Linked DNA regions of Homo sapiens: regions 1 and 3 are each linked to region 2. The links are contacts of gene promoters, found by promoter capture Hi-C in human tissues and cell types (Jung and others, 2019). All regions are on one chromosome and are shown on one strand. The core of a region is centred on a gene start or on the middle of the fragment in contact, and the rest is flanking DNA. Distances in the headings are between cores, read along the strand shown.

Region 1 (3,263 bases), core at 117-2,616, 1.8 Mb before region 2:
TGCCCGGCCGCCCCTACTGGGAAGTGAGGAGCCCCTCTGCCCGGCCAGCCGCCCCGTCCGGGAGGGAGGTGGGGAGGTCAGCCTCCCGCCCAGCCAGCCGCCCCGTCCGGGAGGTGAGGGGCGCCTCTGCCCGGCCGCCCCTACTGGGAAGTGAGGAGCCCCTCTGCCCGGCCAGCCGCCCCGTCCGGGAGGGAGGTGGGTGGGGGTCAGCCCCCGCCCGGCCAGCCGCCCTGTCCGGGAGGTGAGGGGCGCCTCTGCCCGGCCGCCCCTACTGGGAAGTGAGGAGCCCCTCTGCCCGGCCACCACCCCGTCTGGGAGGTGTACCCAACAGCTCGTTGAGAACGGGCCATGATGACAATGGCGGTTTTGTGGAATAGAAAGGGGGGAAAGGTGGGGAAAAGATTGAGAAATCGGATGGTTGCCGTGTCTGTGTAGAAAGAGGTAGACATGGGAGACTTTTCATTTTGTTCTGTACTAAGAAAAATTCTTCTGCCTTGGGATCCTGTTGATCTGTGACCTTACCCCCAACCCTGTGCTCTCTGAAACATGTGCTGTGTCCACTCAGGGTTGAATGGATTAAGGGCGGTGCAAGATGTGCTTTGTTAAACAGATGCTTGAAGGCAGCATGCTCCTTAAGAGTCATTACCACTCCCTAATCTCAAGCACCCAGGGACACAAACACTGCGGAAGGCCGCAGGGTCCTCTGCCTAGGAAAACCAGAGACCTTTGTTCACTTGTTTATCTGCTGACCTTCCCTCCACTACTGTCCTGTGACCCTGCCAAATCACACCCAAGAATGATCAATTAAAAAATAAATAAATAAATAAATAAAAAACAAAAAAAACAAAACTACTTTCAAAACTAGCTTAATGTGTTTTAAAAACAACTCACTGAAAATGGAAGCCTGGCGCGGTGGCTCATGTCTGTAATCCCAGCACTTTCGGAGGCTGAGGCGGGCAAATCACCTGGGGTTAGGTGTTCAAGACCCAGCCTGACCACCATGGAGAAACCCTGCCTCTACTAAAAAAATACAAAAAAATTAGCCGGGGGTGGTGGCGCATGCCTGTAATCCCAGCTACTCGGCAGGCTGAGGCAGGAGAATCGCTTGAACCCGGCCGGCGGGGAGGTTGCGGTGAGCCCAGATCGCGCCATTGCACTCTAGCCTGGGGGCCAAGAGCGAAACTCTGTCTCAAAAAAAAAAAAAAAAAAAAGATTATTGATAGAAAATTTGGCTAACATGATGCAACAGTTTTTTAATTTACAATAAGGCCACATAAACCAGTAATAATATTTTTTTAAATTGTAGAAATGGGTAAAGGATATAAAGAAGCAGTTCAAAGAAAAAAATACAAATGGGTCAATATGAATGAAAACATGTTAAACTTCACCTTTGAAGAAATGCAAATTGAAACAAAGACACAATTTTTACCTATTAGTTGGCAATAATTAAGAAGTCTGAGAATACTCAGTTTTGGCAACGTTGGAATACAGATACATCATACACTATTAGTGGGAGTATAGGTATAAAAATATAAATGCAAATATCCGTTGACCTAGCAATTTTACCACTAAGCTTCCAGTCTATGAATACAATTATAAAAGTATGCCAAATATACATACAAGAATATCGACTAGTACTAGCCATTTAAAAACCCCATTTGTGTTTTAAAAAACCCACAAAATGGAATTATACAATATATTTATGTATGTCACACACATATATATATATACACATACACATATAGATGAATGTAATTGCGCTGAGAATAATCTGAAAGAAAATATACCAACATTGGCCAGGCACAGTGGCTCACACCTATAATCTCAGCACTTTGGGAGGCCGAGGTGGGGGGATCACTTGAGGCCAGGAGTTTGAGACCAGCCTGGCCAACATGGTGAAACCTTGTGTGTACTAAAAATACAAAAAAATTAGCCAGGCGTGGTGGCACACACCTGTAGTCCCAGCTACTTGGGAGGCTGAGGTGGGAGAATCACTTGAACCTGGGAGGCGGAGGTTGCAGTGAGCCAAGATTGTGCCACTGCACTCCAGCCTCGGCAAGAGAGTGAGACTCTGTCTCAAAAAACATAAAAAATAAAAATAAAAAATAATTTAAAAAAGAAAATATACGAAAGTGATTACAGTGGTACTTCTGTGGAGAAAGGTGGACCTGCAAAGGAAAAGGGGGATTAAGGGAGAGCTGATCCTTTCCCTGTATTATGTGAATGTTTTACAATGAGAACATATTCATGTGTTATCTGTGTGGAAAAACATAGTTAAGGTCTGCTAAGAAAAAAAAAAGAAAAAGAAAAAAGAAGGTACCTAATTACATGAGAATTTAGTAAATGAATAAAATGAGCCAATACACTTTCCCATATAAAAACTAACAATGGGGTGGATGCAGTGGCTCACCCCTATAATCCCAGCACTTTGGGAGGTCAAGCCATGCAGATCACTTGAGCCAAGGAATTTGAGACCAGTCTGAGCAACATGGCAAAACCCTGTCTCCACAAAAAATACAAAAATTAGTCAAACATGGTGGTACACACCTGTGCTCTTAGCAACTCAGGAGGCTGAGGCAGGAGGACCGCTTGAGCTTGGGAAGTAGAGGATGCAGTGAGCCGAGATTGCGTCACTGCACTCCAGCCTGGGCGACAGAGTGAGACTCTGTCTCAAAAAACCCAAAAAACAAAACAAACGAACAAAAAAACCCAAACCAAACCAACCCAAAAACTAATGCTCTACTTCAACTATTATACATTCCTTTATTTAAAATGTCAGTATGATATCTAAACCACACTATCAGGTTTGGCAAAATGCTAACTATTGTCAGATGTCAGATGTCATTTGGGCCATGCAGTCCATATTAAACACAAAAAGCAACAAGAAAACACAGGCACACTAGCTACTAACAGAGAAGAGAGTATGAGGCACAAAGCATTGGCACAAAAGCCCGAAACTGTGTAATGTTTGAGAAGTAATTTTGTTAACACAGACTTCCCACCTATATGAATCTGTGCTTATTCTGGTTCAAAGGATCAAAAAGCCTTTGATTTCCATTCCCAAGTTACAGAATTCACCAAGTTATACGTAACTTTTCCTCAAGTTTGTACCAACTTGTAATTTCTCTGGAAAAAAAGTGTTCTCTACATACTACCATGTAAATTACATATTTTTTAAAGTTTCTACCATGCCAACAGAACCTCTAAAAGATCTTTAATTCAAAATAAAATCTCTAGGGAAAAGGTATCTGCAACTAAAGGGA
Region 2 (3,087 bases), core at 140-2,639:
TTCTTTAGTGCACTATTTTTTCTCTCTCATAGCTCAATGCCATTTCACAGGCCATTTCCTATGCTTGGCATACTCTTCCCTACAAGGTCAGGTAGGTTCTTACTCATCATTGAGGACTTCACTTATTTAAGAAGGCTTCCCTGAGTTCTCAAGCAGTTAATGCCTCTCTGCTAAAATAGCACCTTGGAGGAACCTGTATTACAGACAGCCCTTAACACATTGGATTGTAACTAATTGTTTACTGGTCTCTCTTCTCCATTGGAATCTAAGTTCCTGGAAGGCACGGTCAGTCTTGTCTTCATTTATTCACCATCTACTGTCTGTTAGTGTGCTAGGAAACACTGTGGTTAAGTAGTTAAGGGCCAGGTCTTGGCGGATCTGCCTGGGGACAAAACAGCTCCTTGGAAAAGGTTAACTATCTAAGCCTCATTTGTAAAATGGAAACAACACCTCCTCACGATTGCTGTGAAGATGAAGTAAAGTGCTTGCAAACAGTCCATCACACAGCAAACCATCCGTCATCAGGATAAAACGCTTCCCCAACAATTCAATTTTCGGGCACCCCCACTCTAATTCTCTCATAGGACCTCGCACTCTATAGGTAATCTCTGCTTTACGGATTACTCTGGGTTCTTTAAACCTCTCCTTGGTCATTCGTCCTGTTAACAATTCTGAGTCTCAACCTTTAGGTCTAGGCGTTCAGAACCATTCTTCCCGCCTCCAACTCGCTCCAAACCCTTTTCCTTCAGCCTACCCTGGGCCTAGGGGCGTGTCAGAGGTCCGATTTATACAATTTAAACATCAAAACTCCCCCAACAGCGTGTGAGTAACTGGAGAGACCCCCAGTCAGAGCTTTGCCACCGAGTTTCGGTCTTGCCCTCCCTTTGAGGAAGGAGCAAGACGATGAGCCCCACCTCAGTCGTTCACTGCAGAGCCAGCAGGGAACGCGCGCAATGCAGGCTGAGCTGAAAGAACGAACGCGTGAGCTGAAAGAACGAACGCGTGAATGAATGAATGGGATACGTCGTAGGCCAGGCCTCTGTTACGTCGTCCACCGGCGCGGGCGTGGCCACGGTTAAGAGAGACGCGCGCGCAGTCGCGCGCGGGTCGTGCCGTACCACCGTCGCGGGCAGGCTCGGCCACGAGCGCCAGAGCCCCGCGCCTCCCCTCGCGGCCTGTCCCAAGTCCCTGCCCCGCAACAGAGCGTCACTTCCGCCATCCCCGGCAGCGGTTGGGGCGGGGCGCACGGGGGAGGGGGCCAGGTCGGAGGGAAGCCCGCCCGTGCCCGAGCCCGCGCCCGAGCAGGGACTACATTTCCCGAGGGGCCTCGGCGGCGGCTGCGGCGACGGGCGCGGCAACGTCCCCCGGAAGTGGAGCCCGGGACTTCCACTCGTGCGTGAGGCGAGAGGAGCCGGAGACGAGACCAGAGGCCGAACTCGGGTTCTGACAAGATGGCCGGGCTGCCCCGCAGGATCATCAAGGTAACCGCCCAGGCCGGCCTCCAGCTCTTCGCTCTGCTCTCGTCGGCTCAGCTGGGCAGGCAGCGCGGCCTCTCGCCTCCTTCGGCCCGCGGCCCGCTCTGGGAGGCCCGAGGCGGCGCGGAGAGGGGTTGGCCGCGGCGGCGAGGGAAGTCGGGTGCTGAGGAGGGGGCGCCGGGGAGACTTCCGGCCGCGGCGGGGCAGCCGGACAGCGGGGACCCGGGGCTTCCAGGCGGCTGCCCGGCGGGCCAGGGAGTGCTGTCCCACGCCCCGGCGGAGGGTGGGGCGGCAAGGCTGGGGGTCTCTGGGCTTGGGCGCGGGCCTCCATAGCTTCTGAGACCACCCCCCCGCCGGAGGCCGCGGGCGCGCGGGAATCGCGGCGGGGCTCGGGCGCCTGGTGGGGATTGTGGCCCGACAAGGTCCCTCGGCAGCCAAGCCCCTCTTCTCCGCCCCGACGGGGCCGCGGAGGTGCGGCAACCGCGGGTGCAGAATGAATGAACCGGGAGGGTCAGGCCGGGCGGGGCCCTGCGCCCCGGGAAGTGGCTCTGGGAGGCCCGCGCGTCCTGCCGCGGTCAGCACATGCTCGCCCCTGGTTGCCGCGGCTGCCTGGGTCCCGGGACGTGGGGGCCCCGCGCCCCGCTGCCCTTGCTTCCGCGATCTCTCTCTTCTGAATACGTTTCCGCTCGTTTATCTCTGCGAAGTGATTTTACTCTGGTTGGCAAACTCTTTCAGAGCTGTTCCGAGGAAATAGTTTTAACACAAGGCTGGGGGAGGGCCGCAGTTATGGGGGATTCTCTTTCTCTCTCCTCTTCTCTCCTCTCCTCTCTTTTTCGTAGATATGAGGCCTCGCTATAGTGCCCAGGCGGCTTCCAAAACTCCTGGCTTCAGAGATCTTCCTACCTTGGCCTCTGTGGGGGATCTCGTGAAATCTTTTGCCCCTCAATTTTGTGCGTTTTAATTATTAATTGGCTGTTTATGAATACTGTGTTTTGACAAGTATGTATGGAACCATGACATTTTCGATTCTTTGATTTTGTAAAGTCTTAAGGAAATATCGACAAGTCTTCAGACGTGAGATATTCCTTGTCATCACAACAACTAAACCTTAAATTTTTGTGTCGGTTTTTATGAAGGAAATTAGTTGCACATTTATGTGACTAAATGCGCCAGTTAAAGTGACTCAATTGCAGCATCATTTTGCTTGATATAACCTGGTGAACGTGTATGTTAATCTTGCTCATTCTTGTGAAATCTGTGGGGAGATGCATACTAAGTGGAAGACCTGTTAGGCTTCGAGGATGATGTACTGTATACTGCTTCATCCAATTGCATTTAAATATATCTGAGATGAGGGAGATGTCACTGACCTAAGGGTGCTGATGTAGAGAAATAAGACGTTTTTGTATGGTAGAAATTCTTAGAAATGAGAGAAGTAGAACAGATTGTCAGGGAGCACTGGAGTCTAATAATGTGAATCTTCATAGTCCGAAATTTGTTGTGTGTGGATTTATCTAGGATTCTGTCCAAGGAGTTTTAATTGTCATATGTATTGGCAGGTCCGTACAACGTGGTTTTAGTTATAATGCAGTCACATGGTCCCCAAAGGTCA
Region 3 (2,825 bases), core at 210-2,709, 1.4 Mb before region 2:
CTCCAACCCTGTTTGCCTGGGTATCACCAGCGGAGGCTGCAGAACAGCAAATATTACAGAACAGCAAATATTCCTTCCTCTGGAAGCTTTGTCTCAGAGGGGCACCTGGCTGTATGAGGTGTCAGTCGGCCCCCTACTGGAAGGTGTCTCCCAGTTAGGCTACTTGGAGGTCAGGGACCCACTTGAGGAGGCAGTCTGTCCGTTCTCACATCTCAAACTCCGTGCTGGGAGAACCACTACTCTCTTCAATGCTGTCAGACAGGGACGTGTAAGTCTGCAGAAGTTTCTGCTGCTTTTTGTTCAGCTATGCCCTGCCCCCAGAGGTGGTGTCTACAGTGGCAGGCAGGCCTCCTTGAGCTGCAGTGGGCTCCACCCAGTTCGAGTTTCTGGGCCGCTTTGTTTACCTACTCAGGCTTAAGCAATGGCAGATGCCCCTCCCCTAGCCTTGCTGCTACCTTGCAGTTCGATCTTAGACTGCTGTGCTGGCAGTGAGCAAGGCTCCGTGGGCTTGGGACCCTCCGAGCCAGGCGTGGGATAAAATCTCCTGGTGTGCTGTTTGCTAAGACCATTGGAAAAGCGCAGTATTAGGGTGGGAGTGTCCCGATTTTCCAGGTGCTATCTGTCACGGCTTCCCTTGGCTAGGAAAGGGAATTCCCCGACCCTTTGTGTTTCCCGGGTGAAGCGATGCCCCGCCCTGCTTCACCTAACACTCCCTGGGCTGCACCCACTGTCTGACAAGCCCCAGTGAAATGAACCCGGTACCTCAGATGGAAGTGCAGAAATCATCTGTCTTCTGGGTCACTTACGCTGAGAGCTGTAGACTGGAGCTGTTCCTATTCGGCCATCTTGGAACCCACTCAGCTGTTTATATATTTTCTTTGGTGAAATGTCCATTCAATTTTTGGCCTATTTTTATTTTTATTTATTTATTTATTTATTTTTAAGGTGAAGTCTTGCTCTGTCACCTAGGTGGGAGTGCAGTGGCACAGTCTTGGCTCACTGCAACCTCTGCCTCCTAGGTTCAAGCGATTCTCCTGCCCCAGACTCCCAAGTAGCTGGGATTACAGGCATGCTCTACCATGCTTGGCTAATTTGTGTATTTTTAGTAGAAACGGAGTTTCACTATGTTGATCAGGCTGGTCTTGAACTCCTGACCTCAGGTGATCTGCCTGCCTTGGCCTCTCAAAGTTCAGGGATTACAGGCGTGAGCCACCACACCCGGCCTGGCCTATTTTTAAATTGAGTTCCTTGTCTTATTATTGAGTTGTGAGAGTTCTTTATATATTCTGGATATAAGTGCCTTATCAGATATCATTTATAAATATTTTCACCCATCTGTGGCTTGCATTTCATTTTCCTTTTCTTTCACTGGTAAATATGTAGAGTAATTAATTAATTTTCTTAATGGTGACTTTTGAAGAGAGCTTTTAATTCTGAAGTCCAGTTAATCAATTTTTTCTTTTATAGTTTGTGTTTGGCCTTTGCCTCTTAGCACCCAAATATTCCTGTCTCTTTGGTTTATTCTTAGTTTAGATGTCCCAATTTTTACTCTTTCATTCTCCCTGGATCTACATTTATTCCTGTTTGAGGACAGAAGGCAAAGCCCAGCCTCCAAGTTCTCTTGCTAATACACTGTGTTGGGCACCTTCCTGGAATTGTGTGTTCAGGCCTTTGGTAACTATGCAGGCCTTTGGTAACTTTGGCTACCAAATCTTGAGATAGAAGGTGAAATTAGACCTTCCTCAGCAATTTACAATTGAAGTCAGATAAGAAAAATGACTGCTTTATATGCAAATTTTTCTTTTTTAAAAAATTAGTTGAGTGCTTCTCTACTTATTGATAAACATCAATAATTATAAAAATATCCCTTACATTGCTTTAAAGGTTTTCAGAGTTAATTTACCTTTATCTTCTCATTTAGGTCCTTTTGCAGATAAGAAATACAAGAGTTTAAGTAGAATAAAAGGGTATTTAACACAAATTAGTTAATATTGGAGACACAAGTATTATTTGATCATTTTTTCCAGAGTCTACCAAGAATTTATTTATTTATTTATTTTGAGATGGAGTCTTGCTCTGTCGCCAGGCTGGAGTGCAGTGGTGCGATCTCAGCTCACTGCAACCTCCGACTCCCTGGTTCAAGCAATTCTCCTGCCTCAGCCTCCCAAGTAGCTGGGATTACAGGCACATGCCACCACACCCAGCTAATTTTTGTATTTTTTTTTAGAGACAAGGTTTCACCATGTTGGCCAGGATGGTTTCGATCTCCTGACCTTGTGATTCGCCTGCCTCGGCCTCCCAAAGTGCTGGGATTACAGGCGTGAGCCACTGCGCCTCGCCCCAAGAATATTTACCATTCACCATGCAAAAATGAGTGGGAGGAGAGGGTAGCACTGGGCTCTGTCTACTAATCTGATGAAGCTCAGCTATAGTCAGAACCATAGAATTGCAGATTCTTGATGCTGAAAGGGGCCTTGAAACTTCAGAGTGCATCCCTTCACCCACCAGAGGAATCCTTAGATTGCTCTTGTTGGTTGATAATCTTCTGGCTCCCAGGCACTTTCAAAAAGAAAGCTTAAAACTTTTCAAGCCCGTGGGATCAATTCTTGGATAATTTTAAGTATTGGAAAATCATTTTATGTATGGAGCCTAACTTAGCCTCCCCTGTAAATTTCACCCGTTGGTGACACAAAACAACTAGTGCCATTCTTTATTGGCAGCTCTTCAAATATCGAAGAGTACCTTAAACCATCACTTCCATGGTTGCCACCTGTTCTATCAACTATTTTGTGTTTAATTTGGATTCCAGACTTACAGCTGTGATA

The links. Contacts are between HindIII fragments. The study calls those that stand out against the background at their distance.
Region 1: a contact is called between a fragment that was not itself captured here and the fragment with the promoter of UBE2N in region 2, in 1 of the 25 tissues and cell types used here (stomach).
Region 3: a fragment that was not itself captured here is called in contact with the fragment with the promoter of UBE2N in region 2 in 1 of the 25 tissues and cell types used here (ovary).

The regions. Positions count from the first base shown.
Region 1 is chr12:95,232,233-95,235,495 of GRCh38, reverse strand. All of the region lies in intron 1 of VEZT (vezatin, adherens junctions transmembrane protein), which reads right to left. Among named protein-coding and RNA genes, the nearest start is that of VEZT, 16 kb to the right of the region's middle. The HindIII fragment of the contact is 9,678 bases long and covers 1-3,263 here.
Region 2 is chr12:93,440,249-93,443,335 of GRCh38, reverse strand. UBE2N (ubiquitin conjugating enzyme E2 N) reads left to right here and starts at 1,389. Exons shown (of 4, transcript NM_003348.4): 1 at 1,389-1,481. The coding sequence starts at 1,452. RefSeq lists silencers at 984-1,443, 1,524-1,733, 1,884-2,023, 2,054-2,173 and an enhancer at 854-1,491. The HindIII fragment of the contact is 20,755 bases long and covers 1-3,087 here.
Region 3 is chr12:94,820,848-94,823,672 of GRCh38, reverse strand. No RefSeq gene overlaps it. Among named protein-coding and RNA genes, the nearest start is that of MIR492, 12 kb to the left of the region's middle. The HindIII fragment of the contact is 3,239 bases long and covers 1-2,825 here.